3 separate regions of the Homo sapiens genome follow, and regions 1 and 2 are each linked to region 3. Evidence: promoter capture Hi-C in human tissues and cell types (Jung and others, 2019). All regions are on one chromosome and are shown on one strand. Each heading gives the region's core, a stretch centred on a gene start or on the middle of the fragment in contact. The rest is flanking DNA. Distances are from core to core; before and after follow the strand shown.

What was found. Contacts are between HindIII fragments. The study calls those that stand out against the background at their distance.
Region 1: a contact is called between a fragment that was not itself captured here and the fragment with the promoter of CKAP5 in region 3, in 1 of the 25 tissues and cell types used here (mesenchymal stem cells).
Region 2: a contact is called between the fragment with the promoter of AMBRA1 here and the fragment with the promoter of CKAP5 in region 3, in 1 of the 25 tissues and cell types used here (liver).

What each region holds. Positions count from the first base shown.
Region 1 is chr11:46,999,716-47,003,660 of GRCh38, reverse strand. All of the region lies in intron 2 of CSTPP1 (centriolar satellite-associated tubulin polyglutamylase complex regulator 1), which reads right to left. It overlaps LOC124902670 (a long non-coding RNA gene), which reads right to left. Exons shown (of 2, transcript XR_007062665.1): 1 at 1-3,945. Among named protein-coding and RNA genes, the nearest start is that of CSTPP1, 65 kb to the right of the region's middle. The HindIII fragment of the contact is 3,670 bases long and covers 1-3,297 here.
Region 2 is chr11:46,592,284-46,596,163 of GRCh38, reverse strand. AMBRA1 (autophagy and beclin 1 regulator 1) reads left to right here and starts at 2,141. Exons shown (of 18, transcript NM_001387011.1): 1 at 2,141-2,336. RefSeq lists enhancers at 1,957-2,386, 1,889-2,389. The HindIII fragment of the contact is 25,136 bases long and covers 1-3,880 here.
Region 3 is chr11:46,844,988-46,849,084 of GRCh38, reverse strand. It overlaps CKAP5 (cytoskeleton associated protein 5), which reads left to right and starts at 2,805. Exons shown (of 44, transcript NM_001008938.4): 1 at 2,805-2,865. LRP4-AS1 (LRP4 antisense RNA 1) reads right to left here and starts at 2,674. Exons shown (of 3, transcript NR_038909.1): 1 at 2,586-2,674; 2 at 2,368-2,475. RefSeq lists enhancers at 2,411-2,530, 2,985-3,562 and silencers at 2,741-2,820, 3,001-3,150. The HindIII fragment of the contact is 16,643 bases long and covers 1-4,097 here.

The DNA.
Region 1 (3,945 bases), core at 213-2,712, 160 kb before region 3:
CAGTGCTGGTAGCATTGCATCTGATAGTTGAAGAAGGGAATCACAATTATGTCCTCAGACAAGAAATTGGTTAGATATGACCCCTCCTGAAGGATCCTGAGAGACAATTTGTTTTTTGGAGAAGTCACTGACTATAATGATGCACCTGCAAGGGGGCCGGGAGCTGAGAGACAGACAAACATCTTAGCAAATTCTAAAAGCAGAGTGAAGCTTCATTTGACTTTCATTTCACTTTTCTCAGGGAAGAAGAACCTTTGTGTTACTGCCAAAATCCTAACTGTCCTTCCTTCCTCTCTGTCCCCTCCACCCCCACGCCAGCTCATTAAAGATCTTCTGGTTAAAGGTGCCAAATTGTGTCATTCTTTCCTACTCCAGTGCCAAGCCTGTGCCAATGGCACCACAGATTGATCTGCTAGAGTTCTGAGCAAATTATGGAAGAAATTAAAAGCACTGAAAATTTTAAATTGTTCTGTTGCTGGTGAAGTAAAGCTTTTTAAACTTCTTATTCTTCTTGTAGAGACAGGGGTCTCATTGTGTTGCCCAGGATGGCCTCAAACTCCTGGCCTCAAGTGATTTTCCCACCTTGGCTTCCCAAAGTGCTGGGATTATAGGTGTGAGCCTATAATCTGGCCTAGTTTCTTAACTTTTGATGACTGACTTTACATTGCTAATGGCATAACACTTGTTAATTAAGACTCGTGTGAGTGTACTTGATTGCCAGACAAGTATTCAGGGAATTATCAGAGTGGTGGTGTGAAGGAATATCAGGGCTTGGACCAAATAAAGATCCTTCATATTATTTATAGATTGAAATAAATCAAGTTATTTATCTAAGGGGAGATATTTTAATGTAAAAAATCAGACCTAAATTTTATACTAGCTAGCTGCAAAAGCAGCTCCCATGAAAACAGAAATAGTATCATTGGGGCTTGAGAACACTTCAGCCAAGGATGGTGTTTCTTCATTTCCTCTTATTGAATGGTTTTATAACAGATAAGTTTCTCTTAACTTGTAGAAGGCAGGGGGTGGGGTGGGGGGAACAAGGTCTTTCCTGACAGGGAGAATCTGGGCCCAATTATTACTTCTGTAACCTTTGACTCTGACTTCTAAACGAGTCAAGGGACCAGTGGGCTGTGAAATAGCTTCCTCCATTACCAGGTCAAGTGCTGCTGGATAGTTTCCTGTAACCATAATACAAAGGGACTGAAGAAGTGAGATGGATTCTACAAAAACAGGCAACTTCTTGCATCCTCAATGACCCTGGATTTTTAAGTTTCAAAACAGATTTTGACTCTTAACTCACCACCATGGCTCCCTGTAGTCTTTTTGCTATAGCATACCTCTAGTAATACAGAAAAGAGCCAGAAAGAATCCTCTATAGATTTGGTTCTATGATGGTCTAACAGAGGTGCCTGGCCTAGTAACAGTGGGGATAGGGTTGCTTTAACTGAAGGCAAATCTCTTCCTGACAATTATCTGAGTCTGTGGGAAACCAGATGCTGACAATGAGAAACGGGTAATTTTCTGTTACAATGTTTAACAGCTAAGAACTGAACTATGGAAAAAAGTCAGGGGAGGGGGTGGGTAAAGGGGGAAGCATTACCCCTTTTGAAGAAGTCTATAATAGGATTAGTCACCATTACTTTACCACACCACATTTTGGCTCAATTTAACGTAAATAAGTAGAGAAAACATGAGCAGAAATGGCCCAAAGAAGTCTCAAGTCCATCTCTCATTCAGAGCTACAAGCTGGAAATCAGCGAAGTCTTGGTTTGTTCTGATGTGCTTCTTGTTGCCTCACACCTGCTCCTCTGTTACCATGGACACAAGAAGAACCCCAAACAACATTATTTAAACTCTAGATGGTGAATGATCCTTAAAAAATCTGTCACCTTTAGAATGAATGTTTATGCCCTGATTGTTATAGATTATGTAGGAAAGAAGTGGGTCATCTTTTCATAGGGCTTAAAGCACCTGTCTGAAAAAAAAAATAACAAGAAATGATACATATTTTATAATCATGGATTGTTTTCATTAGAGTTACGTTTTAAGTTATTTAGGAATATGCACTATTACCTATGTAACAAACCTGCACGTTCTACACATGTATCCCAGAACTTAAAGTAAAAGAAAAGAAAAAAGAAAAAAAAAACGGGTATGCACTATTGGAATCTCTTTTTTTCTCCAAGGATGAATTAATGAAGTTCATATTTTATGGATTTATTTGAATCAAAATTAATTCTGATGATTAACATGTATCAAAATGAAATTATTAATGCTCCTTTTCTAAAAACTGACAAAGATTTCCATCTCCATATTTATACTATGTAGTGTAGAACACAAATACTTTTGATGATGAATTATTTTATTTACTTTCACTGGTTAAATAGGAGCAGAGCATGAGGGAGGCCAGTTACCCATGAGGGGGTCCTAAGAACACTGCCTAGTAAGGGTACTCCATTCTCAGTAGCAACAAATAAAATCAATCAAATGATCATTTTTGGACACAGGAAGCTTACTTAGATAATCAAGGTGGACAAAGAAAAGGTGCATCACCCTCTGAGCTAAGTTATTGGCTCTCTGATGGGATGAGCTCTCAATCGTCATCTCTTCCAAGAGGACTTCCCTGTCCATACTATATATTACCTTACTCTGGCTGTTTTCTTGTTATTTGTCTTGTTACAGTTACCAGCTATGTAACCATGAGAATGTTACTTTTATAGCCTGAATTTCCTTATGAGTAAAATGAGGATAATACTAATACCCTGTTTATATAGAACTGTGAAGATTAAATAAAATAATGGATATTATATGCTTAGAACAGTGCCTAGCACACAGTGCTTATTAACTATTAGCTATTCTCATCCCCATCAGTTTGCTTGTTTATTGATTATTACCCTCATTAAAACACTAGGTTCATAAAGATAGGTACCTTATTTGTCTTGCTCACTGCTCTATTCCCATTGCATAGTACACACAGGCACAGAGTAGGTGCCCAAAAGTAATTTGTGAATGAATAATTCACAAATGAATGCTGCATATTCTCACGTATCCTTAAAATAAACCAAAGGTAGTCTGTGTACTTCTTTCCCTTGCAACCAAAACAGTCATCATAAAAACTTCACCAAAAAACTAAAATCATCCTTTAAAAAACGAAAACAAGACACTTGATCATAAAAGCGAGCTCTCCTGGGCCCACCAACCAAGACCACAGAATATTATTCTTTTCTATATTAGTATGTGGAAGTCAAGCTCCCTGATGCCATAGTGTTGGAACTATCAATTTAGCCTGTGAAGAATGGTTCCCAATTCTGATACAAATTCTCAGATTTCATCCTGTTTTTCTCTCATCATTATTTTCCAATGTCTCAAAAAGCCACATTTCTCATTTTATCTTTACCACAAGAATCTGGTCACACTCTGCTGTGGTTTCTAAGTTAGAGCTACTCTCGCCCATTTTCTTGGATGTATTTCTTCAGAGGTCCTGACCCAGTGCTGACATTTGGCCTATTCTTAGAGTAGCACCTCTAAATATTAATTTCTTTTACCTTCCACTGGTTGAAGGACAACATTCAGAGGTAGAGGTTACATACAACATAAAAGAAAATCCTCTGGGATTTAGTATCCGTCTTTCAAGAGTGTCCAGAGGAATATGATCTACAGAGCTCATGGTCTTGCAGACATACACAAAGTACTGTTCAGCCACTTGTGTTTTACAGTTTATCCAGATTTGCTGGAACAGTCATGGACTTGTTTGAAAACACCAACAACCAAGGAGTGACAGACAGCATAGGTGAGAGGGCAAGCAGACCCAGAGAAGAAAATCAGAAGAGAAGCCTTCCAAATACAATTTCAAGGAGTACTTTTATCACTGTTTAAAGGTAAATCACCCACGGCTAAATATATGAAAGTCTCAAGATGTGAACTCGAAACTGTAAGATGGAA
Region 2 (3,880 bases), core at 892-3,391, 250 kb after region 3:
AAAAAAAAAAAAGCCGGGCGTGGTGGCGGGCGCATGTAGTCCCAGCTACTCGGGAGGCTGAGGCGGGAGAATGGCGTGAACACAGGAGCCAGAGGTTGCAGTGAGCCAAGATCGCTCCACTGCACTCCAGCCTGGGCGACAGAGCGAGAGTCCGTCTCAAAAAACAAAGAAACAAAAACAATGTAGTTATCTGAGTAAAATTTGAATGAGGGCTATAGCTATGCTCCACAAGCCTCTCCAAGAAGGAGAGTTTTCTTTCTTTCTTTTTTTTTTTTTTTGTAGTCCCGAGTAGCTGGGACTACAGGCTCCTGCCACCACGCTTGGCTAATTTTTTGTATTTTTAGTAGAGACGGGGTTCACCGCATTAGCCAGGATGGTCTCAATCTCCTGACCTCATGAACCGCCCGCCTCGGCCTCCCAAAGTGCTGGGATTACAGGCGTGAGCCACCGCGCCCGGCCTGGGCAGTATTTTCAAAGACTTAGAGGAGATTTTTGTAAAGTGCCAATACATTATTTAAAAAAGGCTAATACTGTAAGGATGTGCTCTTTGAGTTTAATTAAAGTCTTCAAAGGCTGGGACTTTTTTTTTTTTTTTTTTTTTTTTTTTTTTTTTTTTTTTTTTTTTTTTAGACGGAGTCTTGCTGTGTCGCCCAGGCTGGAGTGCAGTGGCACGATCTCTGCTCACTGCAACCTCCGCCTCCTGGGTTCAAGCGATTCTCCTGCCTCAGCCTCCCGAAAAGCTGGGATAACAGGCACCCGCCACCACGACCGGCTAATTTTTGTATTTTTAGTAGAGACGGGGTTTCACCATCTTGACCAGGCTGGTCTCAAACTCCTGACCTCGTGATCCACCTGCCTCGGCCTCCCAAAGTCCTGGGCTTACAGGCGTGAGCCACTGCGCCCGGCATTTAAAAAAAAAAAAATTTAAGATAGGGTCTTGCTCCATAGATCAGGCTGGAGTGCAATGGTGTGATCATGGCTCATCGCAGCCTCCACCTCCCGGGCTCAGGATATCCTTTCATCTTAGCTTCCCGAGTAGCTGGGCCTACAGGCGGGAGCCACCAGGCCCGGCTAACTTTTTGTATTTATTTATTTTTTTTTTATAGAGACTGGAGTCTCACCATGTTGCCCAGGCTGGTCTTGAACTCCAGGGCTCAAAGCAATCCACCAGCCTCGTCTCCTAAAGTGCTGGAATTATGGACGTGAGCCGCTGCGCCCGACAAACTGGGACTATCTTGTTTCCTTTTTACACCCTTCCTCTCTGAGTAGTGGGGAAGGGTGTAAACCTCCCTAGGAGCAGGTAAGGTAGACTATGATTGCTCACAATTGGTAACCATACTTGCAGTGATCTTTGTGATTTATTGAATCACATCTAGGATGTACATATTAATCCATATTTGTGCTGAGCATATTCATTTATCAACTAAGAGACTACAGAAAAAAGCCATTGTTGTGGTGATGAAAATGTCAACACTTTATCAGGTTCTGAACCCAAAGAGACTTTTGCTTATTATGTAAGAAGCACACCTGTGGCTCTAGGCCTTTGGAAGAAAATAAAAGAGAAAAGCAATCCGTGTGCTTTTTTTCCCCCTGCCTTAAGGTCAGGCTACATAATTCTGGGTTTTCCCAGCTTCTCTTGGTCATGCTTTGTGGGGACTAAACTGGAGCTTTTACGTAGACTGTTCATTTTGTTCCTCAGCTTGAATTCTCTCTCGTTTTCTGTCTCTATGATTTTTAATTCCCCTCACTGCTCTGTTAGGAAACTAAGGGTCAAATGAGGTTAACTAATTTGCTCAATTGGGATAAAGAGTGTTGGGAGTCCATAGAACAGTTGGGGGACTATAGTTACACAACAAGTGTTATTGCGCTATGATTTGATCTTCAACACATTCACGAGAAACTCCAGTTCTCTAAAGAACTTTAACAGCCGGCGACCCACAGAAAATGGCAGAAGTGCAGGCTCTTTTTTAACCCGTGGCTTATGATCTGGGTTTGTTTATTTACGCCTCAGACAGGAGCCGGACCTTGAGTAGGAGTTGAGCTGTTTTTCGGCGCTCGGCTGTGGTTCCTTGAACGATTGCTTGGGCGTTCCTCCTTTGATGTCTGGGGCGTTCTTGTATTCGGTGATCTTTTGCGCCGTCTTCTTGCTTGATGTCTCCTGAGCGGCGGCGGCGCCGGGTCGAGGGCTGAGTTGTCCGCGAGGCCCCGCGCTCAAGCCGCCTTCTCCTGCCGGTCGGTAGAACGGACCCCTTCCTTTATTCCTGTCTCCTCTTTCTTTTTCCCTGTGGCTCAGCCCGTTCGCTGGACTGCAAACCGAGCTCCCGTCTGCCTTGCAGGTAGGCCCAGGAGGAGCCTGGGAGGCCCAGCCCGGCATCCTTCCGCCGCGGGGTTGAGAAGACCTTGGCGCCGGCGGGTGGGCAGGCTGGCCGGCCGCCGTGACACTGCCAGAGGAGGGGCTACCGGACTGCGTTGAGGGGCGCGGCCGGAGGGGCAGCCCGGAACCGAGGGAGAAGCCGAAAGGAGGGAGAGTTGCTGGGGCTTCCCGGTGTGGTTCTTTAGGGAGGAGATGTTGGGTCTAGGGCACCCCCAGTGTGTGGCGAAAATGGCTTTCCAGGAACCGATAGAGCTTTGCGCACTTTGACCCTCCTTCCTTTCTCCTTTTCCCCCCACCCCGAAGTCTCCGGGTGTCATGCCTCAATTGCACTGGGGACCCCTACTGAGTCCAGCCTTTGAAGGGACCTTTGAGTAGGTGGAGGCTTATGGAACAAGGCCCTCTGGCTCTTCTGAGCGAAGTGTTATGTTCTCGCCTTTTTCTGGGTGGGTAAACTGAGGCTGATGTCTGGGACGTGACTTCCCCACATATCCCCAACAGATCATTAAATTCACTGTAAGTCACTTTTTGTCGTTTACCAATTCCCTTCCCCCCACTTACCAGTCAAGTTATGAAAACAGTGAGTTATTGTTTGATCGTCTGTGATCCCAATTTTCCTAGGAATATAGACTGTTAGGAATATAGATCCTGTCACAAGAGGCTTCAGAAGTAAAGGAACCATGTGGTTTCTTGGCTGTTTTGCTTTTCAAAGTCTGTATCATTTTAACTAGTGTAGCAATGACAGTTTCTTTTTGTTTCTTGATAACCTTGTTGTCTACTTTGTTTCCTGATAACCTTGTTGTCTACTTTGTTTCCTGATAACCTTGTTGTCTACATTGTTTCCTGGTTGATTTATCCTCCTTCTCCCCAGCCTCTTTGGAAATCTTATAACTATGGTGTTTGTGGTTAGAGGTTAGAGTCTAGTAGAGGATGGTCAAGACTTTGAAGGCAAACGCTTGTCCTGTGAGGGTCTGCTTTCTGGGGAGTATCCAATGGAAACCCAAGGAGTCTGTCTCTCTTTTTTCTTTTTTTTTTTTAAGACAGGCTAGCTCTGTCGCCCAAACTGGAGTGCAGTGGCGCGATCTTGGCTCACTGCAACCTCTGCCTCCCGGGTTCAAGCGATTCCCCTGCCTCAGACTCCCGAGTAGCTGGAAGTACCGGCGCGCGCCACCACACTCGGCTAATTTTTGTATTTGTAGTAAAGACGGGGTTTCATCATGTTGGCCAGGCTGGTCTTGAACTCCTGGCCTCAAGTGATTCGTCCACGTCGGCCTCTCAAAGTGCTGGAATTACAGGCATCCACCGCGCCCGCCCAGTTTTGTTGTATTTGATTAGTAGTTTGGTCACTGCACATACAAAAGCTAAAAAAGGCTGTGTGTAGAAATCATTCAAATATTGAGATATTTAAATGAAAGGTTAACGCTTTGGGAACTCCTTTGTGGTTCCCTTTTCCTTCCCAGCTTGGAAAGTCTGGGGACTAAGTCTGTTATTTTCATCGGATTCAGTACC
Region 3 (4,097 bases), core at 1,556-4,055:
CTCTGCTCCTTCTATGAAAGAAAAAAGAAACACACCACGTTAACAGTAAAAATTCATTTCCCTCCCAAGTCCCACTCCTATTAAGTTTCTTATAATTCCAGGAATGTTCTAACCATTTTCAGGCATGCCCTCAAACACACATACGTTTATAACCATATATAATAAAATCATTCCACAAGTTCTGCAACTTGCCTTTTTTTCAATTAATAAAATTTGTGCATGTTTCTGTTCCAGCACATAGATTAACCGCATTCTTTTTAACAGTTTCATAGTGTTCTATTGAATGGATATGTCATAATTTATGTAAAAGGTTCCCTGTTGATGAACATGTAATTTCCAGATTTTTTATTTTTTTTAGAGACAGCGTCTCACTCTGTCACGCAGGCTGGAGTACAGTGGCGTGATCATAGCTCACTGCAGCCTTGACCTCCCACACTCCAGCAATCCTCCACCTCAGCCTCCCAAAGCACTGGGATTACAGGCATGAGCCACCATGCCTGGCCTCCAGATTTATTTTTTTATTTTATTTTATTTTTATCTTAAGCAGTGCTGGCTGGGCACAGTGGCTCACAGCTATAATCCCAACAGTTTGGGAGGCCGAGGCGGGTGGATCACTTGAGGTCAGGAGTTCAAGACCAGCCTGGCCAACAGGTGAAACCCCGTCTCTACCAAAAATACAAAAAATTAGCTGGGCTTGGTGGCACATGCCTGTAATCCCAGCCACTTGGGAGGCTGAGATAGGAGAATCGCTTGATCCTGGGAGGTGGAGGTTGCAGTGAGCTGAGATGGTGCCATCGCACTCCAGCCTGGGCGAGAGAGCGAGACTTCATCTCAAAAGAAAAAAAAAGAAAAAAAAAAAAGGGCCGGGCACAGTGGCTCACGCCTGTAATCTCGGCACTTTGGGAGGCTGAGGCAGGTGGATGACCTGAAGTCAGGAGTTTGAAACCAGCTTGACCAACATGGTGAAACCCCATCTCTGTTAAAAATACAATAAAAAATAATTAGCCGGGCGTGGTGGCAGGTGCCTGTAATCCCAGCTACTTGGGAGCCTGAGGCAGGAGAATTGCTTGAACCCGGGAGATGGAGGTTGCAGTGAGCCAAGATCACGCCATTGCACTACAGCCCGGGTGACATGAGAGAGACTCTGTCAGAAAAAAAAAAAAAAAAAGCCGGGTGCAGTGGCTCACGCCTGTAATCCCAGCACTTTGGGAGGCCCAGGCGGGAGGATCACGAGGTCAGCAGATCAAGACCAGCCTGGCTAACACAGTGCAACTCCGTCTCTACTAAAACTACAAAAAATTAGCCAGGTGTGATGGCACGTGCCTGTAGTCCCAGCTACTCAGGAGGCTGAGGCAGGAGAATCGCTTGAACACGGGAGGCGGAGGTTGCAGTGAGCTGAGATTGCGCCACTGCACTCCAGCCTGGGCGACAGAGCGAGACTGTCTCAAAAAAAAAAAAAAAAAAAGCAGTATTGCAGTAAACATCCTTGTACATTTTTCTTTGCATACTTGCACAGATCTGTACGATAAATTCCTCATAGTGGATTACTGGGCCAGAACTAGATTATGTACATTTTAGTAACTGTCAAATTGTCCTCCTAAAGGTTTGTACCAATTATACTCTTACCAATATTGACTTTGAGTGTCCATTTTTCCAAATCTCTTTATATTTTTAAAAACAGAGATGGGGTCTTGATAGCAAGACCCAGGTTGGTCTTGAACTCCTGGCCTCAAGCAATCCTCCTGCCTCGGCCTCCCAAAGCGCTAGGATTACAGGCATAAGCCATTGCACCCAGCCTGTTTTTCCAAATCTTGACCAACCAAAGGCTGTTGAACTTTTTCATCTCTGCCAACTTGACAATGAAAAAACATGTAATTGTTTCATTTACTTTTATCCATCCTCTCTCCATCTTTTAGCCTGTTGGGAATCTACACATTCTTTAAATCCTAGGTTAAAAATTCATCTTCCTCACAGATCCTCCCCCATCAAATTTCTCCTGTCTCTAAGCATTTATAGCTTTTCATTTATACAGTTATTACACTGCTTTGAATTTTAGTGACTAGTCTGTATGTTATATTCCTCCAACCACTGTAGATTACAAATTCCTTGGAAGTAAGGACCTGAACTCATTCACAGAAACACTGAATGTAGAGCTAAGCTAAAATTCTGGAGATCATGTTAACCAAGCCTCTCGTTTTTATAAGGGAATATTAAGCATTTGCAGGATGCGTTACAGTTCACAAAGGCTTTTCTCAGACATTCTATTAGTTATATTAACTCCTCCATTAAATTGTAAGGGAAACATCGTTATCCCATTTTACAGATAAGGAAACAACTCCAGAAGATTTACTGAGAAAAGTGATTTACTCAGAACAGTTCCAAGGTCAGAATCCAGCATCCTGGCTTCATTCGCTGTTACTTCCACGACATCTCAGCTGCCTCTGGTTTCCCTCACAGCACTTAGCTTCACAATCTCTAGGGAATGAAATGACCAAAAAAAATTGTCGGGTGTTGACAGCAGCCTGAACATCTGTAATTAAATAAAGCAAACATGCTGACGACCAAGGATGCCCGGGTCTACACACATTCTTTCGCCTTTCTTTCTGGAGTCGGCAGACTTGCCCCCGGCAGCGACCAGCGTCCCCACCCGTGCAGGCGGCGTCTGGTCCAGAGGGAAACACGGCTGCGCGCGGCCCCTTTAAGGCTGCGGGCGGCGCGTGCCCACAGGCCTTTCAAATGGACCAATAAAAGTCCGATGGGCGGTCCGTCGAGGACCAATAAAGAACGAGGACACTGCGGGGTGTGCGGCGGCCCAAGCGGTTTCAAACGGCTTAGAGCAGGCCGCTTGGTTCTGACCCAGCTGAGGTGAGTGGTCGGTGGGCCTGCCCCACCCGCGAGGCCCTCGAGTGCAGGCATCGCGCGCGCAGAGGAGCCCCTGAATCCTGGGCGGCTGGAGGTCTCCAGACGCGCGCCCCACTTGCCCCACGAACCCGGCAGGTCTGAGGCGGCGAAGCGAGCCGGAGGCCGGGGGACCTGCGGCGGGCAGGGCCGGGGGCGTGGGCGCTCGTGTGCGGCGGAGGCCGGGGTTGGGCTCCAGGTGGCCAGAGCGCGCCGCAGCGTGGCGCGGGTGGCAGCGTCCGCGGGGCGCGGGCGGTGCAGGGCCGCGCCTGGCGGCAGCGATTTACCAAGACTAGGGCGGGGGCCCCGAGAGCCGGCCCTGCTAGAGTGCCTCTCGCGTAATTGTCAAGTGAATGAATAAGTAAGCGCCTACGAGGGCTGTGGTGGTTGCGAAGGGCCTTGTCGCCCTGGAGCAAGGACAGCGGCACCGGGGCCTGGCCGCACACCTGTGTCCCTGCTGGCTTGCTGCGATGTGAACGATTCCGATCATCCACCACCCCGCCCTTAACGACTGGCTTTCTCTCTCTCAACGTGTCGGGAGCGTTCTGGTGTCCTTCCAGCCCTGGAGGTGTTGGGGAACCAATACAATAGCCAGCAGTGTGGGTTGGGCCTTGCTACTTTAAGGTCGGGCTCGGTGAACTAGATTCTTACTTTTGAGCTCTCCCCTCTACTTGTAATCGTGGTAATTGTTGAGCAGGATTGAAATGCATTCCGTTGTGTTTCTTGGATAGAAAATGATGAAAGGGTTGTTGCCAGAGTGGCTAGTGTGTGTTAGAAAATATATTCGTGTTGATGAATCTTAACAATGAGTTTTTTATTCAGCATCAATAGAGGTTGAAGTGGTTTTTGCAGAACTTGCCCCAAATTTATGCGTGGCTCTAATTTAATTCTCATGGGACCAAGGCATCAAATCTTGGCCCAGAAATGCTGCCTGTCTTATGCATAATTATAGTAATTGAAAACTCATTTTTAGAAAGGTGAGCTCCTCCTTCCTCCATTTTCATCACCCTGAAAAGTCCTTCTTTTGACCTAAAGAGCCAATAAATTAAGCTAAGAATCTTTTGAAACTTTAAGAAATTGTAGAAGACTTTGACTTCTCTGAAGTGACTGGACAAACTGTAATGCTTTTACCAAATTTAATGATATAGATAAAGGTGAAATCAATTTATTTTGCAACCATAAGTTAAATCTAGTTGGTA